Linked DNA regions of Homo sapiens: all the other regions are linked to region 2. Evidence: promoter capture Hi-C in human tissues and cell types (Jung and others, 2019). All regions are on one chromosome and are shown on one strand. Each heading gives the region's core, a stretch centred on a gene start or on the middle of the fragment in contact. The rest is flanking DNA. Distances are from core to core; before and after follow the strand shown. Region 1 overlaps ALDH3A2 (aldehyde dehydrogenase 3 family member A2). Region 2 holds the start of ULK2 (unc-51 like autophagy activating kinase 2). Region 3 overlaps SPECC1 (sperm antigen with calponin homology and coiled-coil domains 1).

What was found. Contacts are between HindIII fragments. The study calls those that stand out against the background at their distance.
Region 1: a contact is called between a fragment that was not itself captured here and the fragment with the promoter of ULK2 in region 2, in 1 of the 25 tissues and cell types used here (dorsolateral prefrontal cortex).
Region 3: a contact is called between a fragment that was not itself captured here and the fragment with the promoter of ULK2 in region 2, in 1 of the 25 tissues and cell types used here (lymphoblastoid cells).

Annotation. Positions count from the first base shown.
Region 1 is chr17:19,653,532-19,657,887 of GRCh38, forward strand. ALDH3A2 (aldehyde dehydrogenase 3 family member A2) reads left to right here. Exons shown (of 10, transcript NM_000382.3): 4 at 2,835-3,043; 5 at 4,214-4,331. Among named protein-coding and RNA genes, the nearest start is that of ALDH3A2, 7.0 kb to the left of the region's middle. The HindIII fragment of the contact is 6,920 bases long and covers 1-4,356 here.
Region 2 is chr17:19,865,284-19,869,480 of GRCh38, forward strand. ULK2 (unc-51 like autophagy activating kinase 2) reads right to left here and starts at 2,653. Exons shown (of 27, transcript NM_014683.4): 1 at 2,045-2,653; 2 at 453-545. The coding sequence starts at 2,134. RefSeq lists an enhancer at 1,770-2,278 and silencers at 1,857-2,036, 2,117-2,706. The HindIII fragment of the contact is 32,590 bases long and covers 1-4,197 here.
Region 3 is chr17:20,107,677-20,112,093 of GRCh38, forward strand. It overlaps SPECC1 (sperm antigen with calponin homology and coiled-coil domains 1), which reads left to right. Exons shown (of 15, transcript NM_001243439.2): 3 at 2,751-2,886. It also overlaps the pseudogene KCTD9P1. Among named protein-coding and RNA genes, the nearest start is that of SPECC1, 100 kb to the left of the region's middle. The HindIII fragment of the contact is 5,222 bases long and covers 1-4,417 here.

The DNA of each region.
Region 1 (4,356 bases), core at 1,857-4,356, 210 kb before region 2:
CTTCGTGGTGAGTGTTACAGCTCTTAAGGCGGCGCATCTGGAGTTGTTAGTTCCTCCTGTCTGGAGTTGTTCATTCCTCCCGGTGGGTTCGTGGTCTCGCTGGCCTCAGGAGTGAAGCTGCAGACCTTCGCAGTGAGTGTTACAGCTCATAACGGCAGTGCGGACCCAGAGTGAGCAGCAGCAGCAAGATTTATTGCAAAGACTGAAAGAACAAAGCTTCCACAGTGTCAAAGGGGACCCGAGCAGGTTGCCGCTGCTGGCTTGGGCAGCCTGCTTTTATTCCCTTATCTGGCCCCACCCGCATCCTGCTGATTGGTCCATTTTACAGAGAGCTGATTGGTCCGTTTTGACAGGGTGCTGATTGGTGCGTTTACAATCCCTGAGCTAGACACAGAATGCTGATTGGTGCATTTACAATCCTCTAGCTAGACATAAAAGTTCTCCAAGTCCCCACTAGATTAGCTAGACACAGAGCACTGATTGGTGCATTTACAAACCTTGAGCTAGACATAGAGTGCTGACTGGTGCTTTTACAATCCTCTAGCTAGACATAAAAGTTCTCCAAATCCCCACCAGATTAGCTAGATACAGAGTGCTGATTGGTGCATCCACAAACCCCAAGCTAGACACAGAGTGCTGATTGGTGCATATACAATCCTCCGGCTAGACATAAAAGTTCTCTAAGTCCCCACCCGACTCAGGAGCCCAGCTGGCTTTGCCTAGTGGATCCCACGCCGGGGCTGTGGGTGGAGCTGCCCATCAGTCCAGCGCTGCGCGCCTGCACCCCTCAGCCCTTGGGCGGTCGATGGGACTGGGCGCTGTGGAGCAGGGGGCGGCGCCCATCAGGGAGGCTCGGGCAGCATGGGAACCCACCAGGGGCGGGGTGGGGGCCTTGGGCATGGCGGGCTGCAGGTCCCGAGCCCTGCCCTGCGGGGAGGTGGCTGAGGCCCGGCGAGAATTCGAGTGTGGCGCTGGTGGGCTGGCATTGCTGGGGGACCCGGGGCACCCTCCTCAGCAGCTGGCCCAGGTGCTAAGCCCCTCATTGCCCAGGGCTGGCGGCGCCGGCCAGCTGCTCCGAGTGTGGGGCCCATTGAGCCTGCGCCCACCCAGAACTCGCTCTGGCTTGTGAGCGCCACGCGCAGCCCCGGTTCCTGCCTGCGCCTCTCCCTCCACACCTTCCCACAAGCAGAAGGAGCCGGCTCCAGCCTTGGCCAGCCCAGAGAGGGGCTCCCACAGTGCAGCTGTGGGCTGAAGGGCTCCTCAAGCGTGGCGAGAGTGGGTGCCAAGGCCAAGGAGGTGCTGAGAGCGAGCAAGGGTTGCCCGCACGCTCTCACCTCTCACCCAGCCTATAAGAGTACTTCTGCTTTCAAAAAAGACATGTCTGTGGCATGAAAACATGCCACACATACACAAAAAGTGCCCTCCTGAACTAGAGGGCAGATCCTCACACTGACTTAACATGCTGGCATTTAAGAATATCAAGAACTGAATAAAGAAAATGATCTGCCCAACTGCGGGTAGTTCATCTGTCTGAGTCAGAGGTTCTTATGCCTTCCTGGGGAGGAAGTTATGATGCCGCGAAGAAATTGGCACTGCTGAGTTCTACATGCAGTTGCTACAGGGAGGAGTCTTCATTTAGCTTTAAGCGAAATACAGCTTAAAAATATCTTACCTGTATTCTGTACATCAACTTGTGATGGATTGAGGCCAGTTCTGGTTCTTGGAATGATATTTTTCTCTTTGTTAGAGCCATTTTGTTCTAATAGCTGTGATGATCCAATCAAGAAAGATGAAATGGAAGACAGTGAGATGTCAAGGATTGAATAGGACGTAGAACCAGAAGATAGAGGTTGAAGGTACCGCTTTGCCCCTGACCAGGGGTAAATTCTTCAATAACTGACTCTGTCCGGATAAGGAGGATAATAATGCTCTACCAGCTTCAGTTACCGTGTTAGGGGATCAATAATATATGCTATGTAGATTAAGCCATAGAAAAGTTAAAGCTTGAAACATTTGTTGGGCAGCTGAACCATGAAGTGAATGAAATTAATTCGCCTTCAAGTGGAAACATGAGATCCACAAGCCAGCTTTTACTTCACACTTCCACCTTGGAGTCTTGAATACCTCTCTGTCTTCCTTGCTTGCCATCTGTTCTCTTACTTTTGATGCTGTTATTGTCCAAGATGTTCTCTCTTAGAATAGCTGGTAATGATAGCACAATGCATAGATGGGCTCAGTCCACAGAAGCTACGTGAATTCTCCCAGTAACAGATGAGGAAATTGAGGCTCAGAGATGTTCAGTAGCTTGCCTAAGGTTGCATAAGCTAGTGAGTGGCAGAGCCCAGATTCAAACCAGATACACTTCAAAAGCAAGCGCTCTCAGCTACTGTGCCGGATATACCATTCATTCAGAATAGCGTGGGCTAAGCCCACTCTGTGTTGTGAGACAGAGAACATTCAGACTAAGACATGCATGACCTGTCCTGTGGGAGCCACTCTTCACCAGAGGCACTTCTGCACACACCCGCGTCTCATGCATTTTCCCTGGTCAAATTCAACCATTTGTTCTCCTTAGTGTCTTTGTTGCTGAGCTCATGTAAAAAAACACTGGAGTCTCCAGATTAGTTCTATGTGGGTTCATGCTTCCCAGATGCCATCGGACTGTGTGTTCTCCTCTTGTCCTTGGTCAGTTCCCTCTCCCATCCCTCACAGGGACTGGTCTTGACACTCTCTGGGTTTTACTGAATGTTACATGTTTATGTTGAAGAGATTGCTGATGTTAGACGTTAGGATTTATTTGGCAGTGCAAGAGTTTGTGTTTCTCTTTCTTTGAGGATCTCTATATTGTTATTAATGGTGGTGTTGAGGAAACCACGGAGCTCCTGAAGCAGCGATTTGACCACATTTTCTATACGGGAAACACTGCGGTTGGCAAAATTGTCATGGAAGCTGCTGCCAAGCATCTGACCCCTGTGACTCTTGAACTGGGAGGGAAAAGTCCATGTTATATTGATAAAGATTGTGACCTGGACATTGTTTGCAGGTGAGTCTGGCTCTCTGATTTTCTGAGGTTTTCCCAGCACAATGGAGACTTTTCCTGACAATGTTACTCTTTGTACTTGAACCCCATACCTTATGGCTCCAAGATACATTATTAAGCTTTGGTGGTTGATGTCCTCAAGAGTAACAGGAGTCTTTCACTGTCTCTTGGCGCCACTGTCAAAAATGGTGAGCTGTAAGTCCTGACATCATGTGGTTGTCCTTAGGAATTTTAAAAAAGTTATATCTGTTCTCAAGATTACAGCTAGATCTAGCAAGAAATTTTAACGTTCTTCTGGCCAGTGATCTGTGAAGTACATAATCCAAAGTATTGTGTGTGCCTAATAAAATCTTTAAATGCCCATTTGAGAGGGTATTATGCTGATATCTTAACTGAGATCCTTTGTGGGCAAAACAAGTGTTCCTCATTTTTTAACTGTGAATAACATCTTGCATCTGAAAATTAGAAAATAAGAGGTTTCAGGTTCTCTCTGCTAAATCCGGTTTAGCTACTAAGAAGTGCCAAATCATAGAACTGACTCTGTGCTCTGGGTGGTGTGGCTTTCTCTGCCCTTCAGAGATTCCAGGTCAGGGTTCCAGGTTGGCTTCCTAAGTAGAAATCCATTTGTCAAAACCAGACACCCTCAGTTAGTGAATGTTTAGGGCATGGGTTTCTGCCCATGCATAGGAAAGGTCTTCCCAAGTGGGGCAGGGCTCCACAAAGAGGAGGATGGCCTTGGAGGCTGGCTGACATCCTGCTTTATACCTGAACATCTTGCAGGCAGAGCCAAAAGCCACAACCAGGAGAGTCTGTACCGAACTCTGGTCATCCAGGACTTTCCTTTGGCTGGACTGGAAGAGGGGAAAGGACATTGGGAGGCTGTTTCTCCTCTTTTCCTGCAGCAGGCAATGGCTTCACTGTTTACCAAGTACTGTTTGCCGTGAGCTGGCCTGAGAACTTCCCTGCTATGTAAAATATTCCACCTCATTTGGAAAATACTTTCTAAGTTCCAAACAACTGATTTAGAAATGAGTTTTTAACTTTTTTATAAAAATTGCCAGATAAATATATGAATCTATTTTAGTTGCAAGACATTCAAACAACACAATGTAACAAATGAATATTTGACTGAATTACTGAATTATATAGCTGTTCTGGATGTTTTCCCCTCAGACGCATAACCTGGGGAAAATACATGAATTGTGGCCAAACCTGCATTGCACCCGACTATATTCTCTGTGAAGCATCCCTCCAAAATCAAATTGTATGGAAGATTAAGGAAACAGTGAAGGTTTGTATTAAAAACATCTGATTCC
Region 2 (4,197 bases), core at 1,403-3,902:
CAAACCATCCCACTTAGATAACACTGGTTGTGAGTGATCTAAAAAGGCCACCTCCAAGGAATATAACTTTCTTCAATTTAAAGAAAGACCCCAAGCACCCCTACTCCCCCCAAAAAACTTAGTAGTAACATGAAAGGGGACAACAGGAGAGGTAAAAACAATGTACAAGATGGGTCTGCCTGGCCCTCTTCTCAAACAACAACACAGTCACTAGGAAAAAGAGAAATGATGAGAAGCTAAACTCAGTCTTCACAGAATCCCTCTGAGCTTTGGTTCTTAAAAATAGCTTCCGAGTACTCAATGTTTTAAAAAAGTGAGCATGCAAAAAGGAGAGCAACAGTTGAAAATTCTCAAACTTGGACCCAACTACCAAAATTGAAAAGGATGGCAGCATGTATTCATTTAAATTAAGTTTTAACCTTATATGAATACTACTACATAAAGTAACATACCTTTAAGATTTTAATTTCCTTTCCAAGCAGTATTTGTGATTTTGACAAGTTCTTTTTATTAATACTTTTAATAGCTACCTCCCAATCAGTTTTCTGAAAAGGAAAAACAGTGTTACTCCTAGATACCATTCCACATAAATAACAGAAAAAAATTTACAAGCGCGAAGGTGTTTTTGGCAAATAAATGTACGGCATTGGGGAAAAATGGAATTATTTTCAATAATTGGAAAGTGATTTCATAAATTATAGTGCAATATGCCAAGATCCTACAACACAACTTCTAAAAATAACAAATATGAAGTCCACATGGTAACTAACATTAAATGAAAAAAGAACAGTTCACAACCACTTCAAAGTTATGGACAAATGTAGAAATAAACTTGGAAGGTGATACAGTTAATTGAAAAGTTATTTGTTAGCTTGGAAGGATTACACCGTGCTTGAGTTCTAAATTATTTTCCTAATAAATGAAAAGTAGGCCGGGAGCCGTGGCTCACACCTGTAATCCCAGCACTTTGGGAGGCTGAGGCGGGCAGATCGGATCACCTGAGGTCAGGAGTTCAAGACCACACTGGCCAACGTGGTGAAACCCCATCTCTACTAAAAATACAAAAAAAAAAAAATTAGGCGGGCGTGGTGGCGGGCACCTGTAATCCCAGCTACTCAGGAGGCTGAGGCAGGAGAATCGCTTGAGCCCGGGAGGCAGCGGTTGCAGTGAGCGGAGATCTCGCCACGGCACTCCAGCCTCGGCGACAAAGCGAGACTCTGTCTCAAAAATAAATAAATAAATAAATAAGAAAAGTAGCATTACTTCATCCGATAAGCAACAAAGTCAGCCCACTTTTAACACGCCCCTTGGGCAACAATCAGAACTGCCACACCCTTTAAGATTATTTCCACTCCCGATATGCCTTTCCAAATTCTTTAGATTCTAAAACCTCGTGTAACTGTACTTGCGAAACAGCAAAGGCTTAAAACAATTTTTTTAAGGCTTAAAGGTGATTTCATGTTCAAGGTGATTGAAAATGAATTGTCCAACCACCTTTCTCACCCGGAGCTCGTCTATCTGACTCCGGGGGGGAAAACGGTACGGGGGCTCTTCGGGGTGCAGGGGACCAGTGCTGGGAAAGGTGACACCTCCCAGGCTGCGAAAGCCTGAGGCTAATGGGACATCCGCCCATTTTCCGCTGGGTCTGTAATTATCAACCTCAAAAGTGACCAGCCCTGGGCACGGGGAAAAAAACCAAAGGTCCATTCACGCCCAACCCTCGAGTCTGCACGGTGCAGTACCGTCTATTTTGGGTCCAGGGTAACCTGGGTGCAAACGCTCCTGCGGGCGGACCGCGGGGTGGGCCCCGGGCACACAGGAGGATCAGCAGCAGCCGGTCGGTAGGCGGAGCGCTGCCAGAGGCTTGGGCCTCACAACAACCCTCACAGGACCAAAACAAACGGCGAGACGGGCTGCGCGCACAATAGCATACCCGGGCGGCTAGCCGAGTCGGGGGTCTCGGCTCGCGGCTGCGCCAAGTTTCAGAACCACCTAGCCCCGTGCCTGCCGCCCGGGGCCCGGCCTCGCCCCGGCCGGCGCTCACCTGGCGGTGCCGCCCCCGGAAGACCACGGCGAAGGCCCCGTGTCCCACGAGATCCCTCTTGCTGTACTCGAAGTCACCCACCACCTCCATGGCCGCGCCCCCGGGGCACACAGCGGACGGGCGGGCGGCGCAGTGCGGCGCAGGTATCAGCACCGCGGCTCCGCGGGCCCGGAGCGCGCCAGCGTGCGGCGGGTCTGGGGCAGCCGCAGCCCCGGGCCCGGGCGGACTCTCATGCCGAGAGACCGGAGCGGAAACTGGGGAAGCTGCCGCGCGGAGCCAGGGTCAGCGAGGCCCGGCCCGGCCCCTGCCGCTCATGGCCCGGCCTGCCGCCGGCCGCTGGCTGTCTGGCGAAGCGGCCTCGGCGCTGCCGGGCCAGGGGTGCCGTCACCGTCACTGTGCGCGCCCAGAGCCGCACACGCGCTCTGAGGCAGTGAGGGGCCCGGTACTCTCCATCCCCAGCTCGTCGGGCCTCCTCGGCCCTCCCCGCTCGGGGCGCTGCTGCGACGGCGACGGCCGCCGCCCTAGAACCCGCACCGCCGCGGCCCCGCGCTTCCCCGCCTCGCGGCGGCGCCCAACGCCCTCGCGCGCGCTACCCGCTCCCGCGCGACTGGCTGCCCTCCGCGACGTCCGCGCGCCTTGAAGGCCGCAGCGCCAGCCGGCTCCCTCCGCCGGGGAAAGGAGTGCGGCCAGGGCTTGGCGCCCGCAGCTGGGCAGATCCTCGGCCGCTCCTGAGGCGGGGACGAAGGGCGCGACCCGCTGCGGCCACAGCGGGTTACGGGCTGCGGGCTCCGTTCTGGGCCTGGGGAGCAGATTCGAGCCGACCACGCCCCGGGCTCCAGGCCGCTGGGAGGCGGACTTCAGAGAAGCGGGTCTTGAACCCCAGCTGCAGGCAGGACGGGATTATCTGCGCAGGGTAGACCCCCAGATTCCTGCCAGAGCAAAGGAGCAACTGCTACTCCAGGCTTTGCCCGCGCTCTGGAAAACCAGAGTTCACGCTGCCAAACTGCCAGCCTTCGGACGCCTCTCGGGGTTTACTCGCTTAGGATCCCTAGAGGGACGGTGACAGGCGGGATTCTGCACCTTTTGGGGGTCCCTTGACTGCGAGAAGCTGGTGACAGCTCAGGGCCCTCTTCGCAGAGAATCGTTTCTGCACACCGACTCAGAATCGCACACGTTTTCAAGGTTCTCCTGGGAGCTCCTAGTGTCAGGCTAGTTTGACCTCGGGCTTACTTCACATGGCCGAAGGGAGCTTTCTTTTCTACCTGATTGTTAAAGCTGTCCAAGTGACAAGGAACAGATTGTCAGGTTTCCCGCAAAGAAGTGTCTTATGAAACCATTTAATAAACAATATGCTTGAAACTACCATGGAATACGCAGGCTCCACACTTGAGTGTGTGTTCGGTTGTATAGGGTATGTGCTTTTGGGGTCTGTCACCACCTCGACTGCCACTGCCTGTCCCTGCAAGCTGATCTCTGAACCATGACAGAGTCAGCTCCAGGATTCTGAGAGAACGCTCCTTCCTCACACGCTCAAAACGTAGGGCCTTGAGTTTCTGCTTCTGCTACTGTGCACGCTTACGTTATCCTGTCCTTACTTACATCTGGCCCAGGTGGTTGTGTTAGACACTGAAAATCTGGAGCCTTCAAAAGTTGACAGCAACTTAAGCAAGTTTGCACATACACCCAAAAATGGATGGAGATGATTCCTTACCTCACTGAAAGATTCTCTACAGTCTATTTTTTTGTTTACTTTTTTTTTTTTTTTTTTTTTTGAGACAGAATCTTACTCTGTCACCCAGGCTGGAGTGCGGTAGCACAATCTTGGTTCACTGCAACCTCTGCCTCCCAAGTGCAAGTGATTCTGCTGCCTGAGCCTCCCAAGCAGCTAGAATTACAGGCACGCACCACCACGCCCAGCTAATTTTTGTATCTTAGTAGAGATGGGGTTTCACCATGTTGGCCAGGCTGGTCTCAAACTCCCAACTTCAAGGGATCAGCCTGTCTCGGCCTCTCAAAGTGCTGGGATTACAGGCGTGAGCCACCACGCCCGGCCTGTTTTTTGTTTTGAGACAGAGTCTTGCTCTGTTGCCCAGGCTGGAGTGCAATGGCATGATCTCGGCCCACTGCAGCCTCCGCCTCCTGGGTTCAAGTGA
Region 3 (4,417 bases), core at 1,038-3,537, 240 kb after region 2:
GAACTCACCTGGCTAATTTTTGTATTTTTAGTAGAGATGGGGTTTCACCATGTTGACAAGGCTTGTCTCAAACTCCTGACCTCAGGTGATCTGCCCGTTTTGGCCTCCCAAAGTGCTAGGATTATAGGCATGAGCCACTGCGCTCGACCATGTGATCCCACCTCTACAAAAATATTTTTAAAAAATTAGCCAGGCATAGTGTTGTGCACCTATAGTCCTAGCTACTTGGGAGGCTGAGGCAGGAAAGCCCAGGAATTCAAGGCTGCAATGAGCCATGTTTGAACTACTACACTCCTGCCTGTGTAACAGAGCAAGACCTTGTCTCTAAAAAAACAAAAAGACTTCTACCGTCATCCCTCTTGTTAAAAGGCAATGGCGAGTTACTGTTTAATGAGTAGACTTTATTTGTGATGGTAAAAATTTCTGGAGATGGATGGTGGTGATGGTTGTACAACATGGTGAATGTATTTAATACCACTGAATTGTGCACTTAAAATGGTGAATTTTATATTATGCTTATTTTAGCACAGTAAAGTTTTAAAAATTACAAAAAAAAGGAAAAAAAAAAAACCCAGAAGGCTAGTATTTGCAGGAGTGGAACTAGGACTTTGCCTAAATTGCAAACTTCCTTCACTCCAATTTTCTTTTTCTGTTTTAATGAAGCACAGCATATTTACAATAAAATCCATAAAGTACACTAATCTTAATCTTAGCTATAAAGCTCATTGCATGTTTATATTTTTTTACACTTGTGTAACCACCACCCTGTCAATATGTTGAACGTTCCAGCACCCCAGAAGGTTTCTTTTTGGTTGTAACTCCCCGAGAGGTAACCACTATTCTGACTTATATTACCATCATTTGATTGTGCAGCTTTTAAACTTAATACAAGTGGAATCAGGCAGTATATACTCTTTTGTGTCTGCTTCTTTCACTTAGCATAATACCTGGGACAGCCACCCATTTATTAGTATATCAGTAATTCATTTTTTTCCTATTTGCTGTGTGGTTCTCATTGCATTTATCCTCTCTGTTGAAGGACATTTGGGTTGTTCTAGTTTTGGGCTGCTATAAAAAAGGTGCTATGAACATTCTTTTGAGGGACCTATGTACTTGCTTCTCTTGGGTGCGGATCTAGGAATGGGATTGCTGAGTCACAGGGAACTGTGCGTGCTCACTTAGGAGTCTCCCTTCTTCGACTTACTGCCTTTCAGCAAATGTTTGTCCTACCCCTTTCATGACAGGGAAGAAAGCAAAGCAAGAGCAGAGGGTGTTGCTTTCTTCTATTTTCCAGCCTTAGCGTTAGTAGATACTGCCACTTTCCAAAGCAGTTATGCCAGTTTACACTTCCACTCACAGGGCATGAGTGTTCCAGTTGCTTCACAGCCTCACCAACACTTGGTATTGGTGTTTATTCACTTTCAAACTATGGTGGGGTGAGGGTGGTTACACCCTGAAATTTAAATGATGCAAAGATGGAAACTTTAAAAAATTGTGCAAATATTTAAACTTCTAACTCTCAGTAAATGACCCCAAAGCCAGTGGAGTAGGATGGAGCAGGGCTTTTCCCTTCAGCCTGTGTGATGGGCGGGGCTCGCCCACTGCATATCGACATTGATTTAAGGGCTTTTCCTTACTGTGTGCTCTGGATGTCAGATACATTAGACAGCTTTGGGCAGCTGCCTTCTCCAGTCTTCCGGCACTGTTCCTCTCCAGAGCCTTCTTTCATGAAGACCCAACAGTAGTTGAGAGAATTCAGTTGTGGTTTTTCTCATTAACGTTGAATGTAATCTATCTGGGCCTGAAGTGTGGATCACTTAGGAGTCTCCTTTCTTAGACTTCAGCACCTTTTAGCAAATGTTTGTCCCATGACAGGGAAGAAAGCAAAGCCAGAACAGAGGGCGCTGCTTTCTTCTGTCTTCCAGCCTCCAAGATTTCCTTTCTCACCTTTGAACACATTTTCTGTGTCAGATCATCTACAGAATGCTTGGTGGTGAGGCCACAGCAGATACTCAGATTGTTTCTCTCCCTCCACCTCCTCCTGGCCTATGTCATGAGCCTTTTTTTGTTGTCCTGGAATTTCTTTTGCATTGCCCTACCCTGCCTTTTGTGCATCTCCCAGTTCTTTTTTCATTGGTTCCCATTCTTTTTTTCCCCCACCAGGAGAGCAGATTTATTTTTTATTTAAAATTTTTGTTTAGAGACGAGGTTTCACTTTGTCACCCAGGCTGGAGTACAATGGCACAATCATAGCTTACTGCAACCTTGAACTTCTGGGCTCAAGCAATCCTCTCACCTCAGCCTCCTGGGTGTCACCATGCCCAGCTAATTAAAAAAAAATATTAGCGAGACAGAGTCTCACTGTTGCCCAGGCTGGTCTTGAACTCCTGAGCCCAGCAGTCCTCCCACCTCAGCCTCCCAAAGTTCTGGGACTACAGTCGTGAGTCACTGTGCCCAGCCACATTTTTTAAGGCTCATTACTTGAAGTGTGACCTGATGGTATTCTTCACGCACAGTCTTAGACACTGCTCTTTGAAACAGTCATGGGAGATCATACTCGGACCTGTTATGACAGAAACAGGTTTGTGTAGCTTTGCATTTTTTCACTTCACTCTATCATGCTACTCAAAGTGCTGTTATTGTATCTTGACTGCTGGGCACATAGCCCAGCTCCCATGCTCTGCTTGTTTATAGCGCTCCTTCCTGAAAACCACCTCTTCATCCTCTCTCTTTCCTTCCAACTCTCTCAGCTCAAGAGGGCCAGCAGTGAGGACACGCTCAACAAGCCAGGAAGTACCGCTGCATCGGGGGTGGTTCGCCTGAAGAAGACCGCCACTGCCGGAGCCATCTCGGAGCTCACGGAGAGCCGCCTGAGGAGCGGCACAGGTAGGAGGGACCGGGCAGGTGGGCTCGGCAGGCCATCAGTCCTGGCCGCATGGAAGCACTTCAGTGACCCATGACCCATCCATTCCTTCCCTCGTGAAATATTTCTTGACCACTTACCCTGGGCCGGAACTGTTTTAGGCAGACGATGTCGCTGCCCACAGGGAGTTTACATCTATAGAGTGGGGAGACCGATGAGAAGCAAAAGGTAACTGGGCGTGCTGTGGTTTCTTTGGTCCCTTCGGAGGTCCATTTGTCACCATGCACGTGTGAAATCCTTCTGACATCCAAGCAGGGCGGCATATGTTCTGGGGCTGTCTTGATACAGAATGCATTAGAGGAATGAATGAACCCTGTTGATCCCTTGCGAAGGTGGGTGTCTAATATTTGTACTGAACCCTATGGAAAGCTGGGAAGAGCCTCGCCCAGCAGCTGTGGAAGGCTGCTCAGAGTGGCTTGGACGGCAGTGGCAACAGGAAGCTGTGAACCTTCTCAGTGTTACTCATTTTTTAAGAATCAGAAAAGGGTTTTTCAATCATTATATTTGAGTTCAGAGCATGTGAAACATGAAATATCAAAGAATTTATTTAATTCTCTCTTTGTGCATATAGATAATAACTCTTAAGCTTTCATGGCCTAACTCTTACAGTGCAGCCCTCAGTGTATTGCTAAATTGTCTAAGACGGGAAAAATAACTGAAATACATCGTTACTAATTTTTAATGTGTTGAAGGGGCACTTATAATTTTTGTGCTCTTTTCGTAAAAGTCACATTCAGGCTAGATCTCAAAAGGTATATTTTAATTTATCAGTTTTTAAAAAGTTGAATCTGTGAAAACCATACAAGGTATTCTTTTCTTGGATATAAAGGGAATGGCCTGGTTTTTCTATATAATGGCTTTACCATTGTAAATACTGATATTGTATTAAACATACACACACACTTGGTTTTTAAAATACAATAAACAAAAGTACCATTTATTTTTATCAAGCCAGCCTAACAGTGATCCCAAAAGTTAATAAAGCCCCACTCAAAAAAAGACAGACTGGGAGGAGCCTAGGGGCAGGGTGGGAATGAGGACCAGCCGAGTCCCGGGTGTGGGACAAATTGCGTGTGTGTGGTGTGTCCCCAAAAGCAGGAAGGTGGCGAAAGGAGGCGAATCCCAGTGGGTGGAGGGAGGGGAAAGGCGGAAGGAGAAAAAGGTGGGAGGAGGATCGGGTGGGAGGGTGGTGGCTCACTCAGGACCCAGGGGGGGGGCAGCGCGATGAGGTGGGTGGCCCTGTTCCTGAACGGCAGCCCCAAGAAGGGAAAGGTGGTTGCTGTATGTGGAACTTTATCTGATTTGCTTTCTGTGGCCAGTGGTAAACTTGGCATAAAAGCCACCAGTGTGTATAATGGCAAAGGTGGACTGATTGATGATATTGCTTTGATCAGGGATGATGATGTTTTGTTTGTGTGTGAAGGAGAGCCATTTATTGATCCTGACAGATTCTAAACCACCTGAGGGATTGTCAGGATTCCACATAGACTGGCT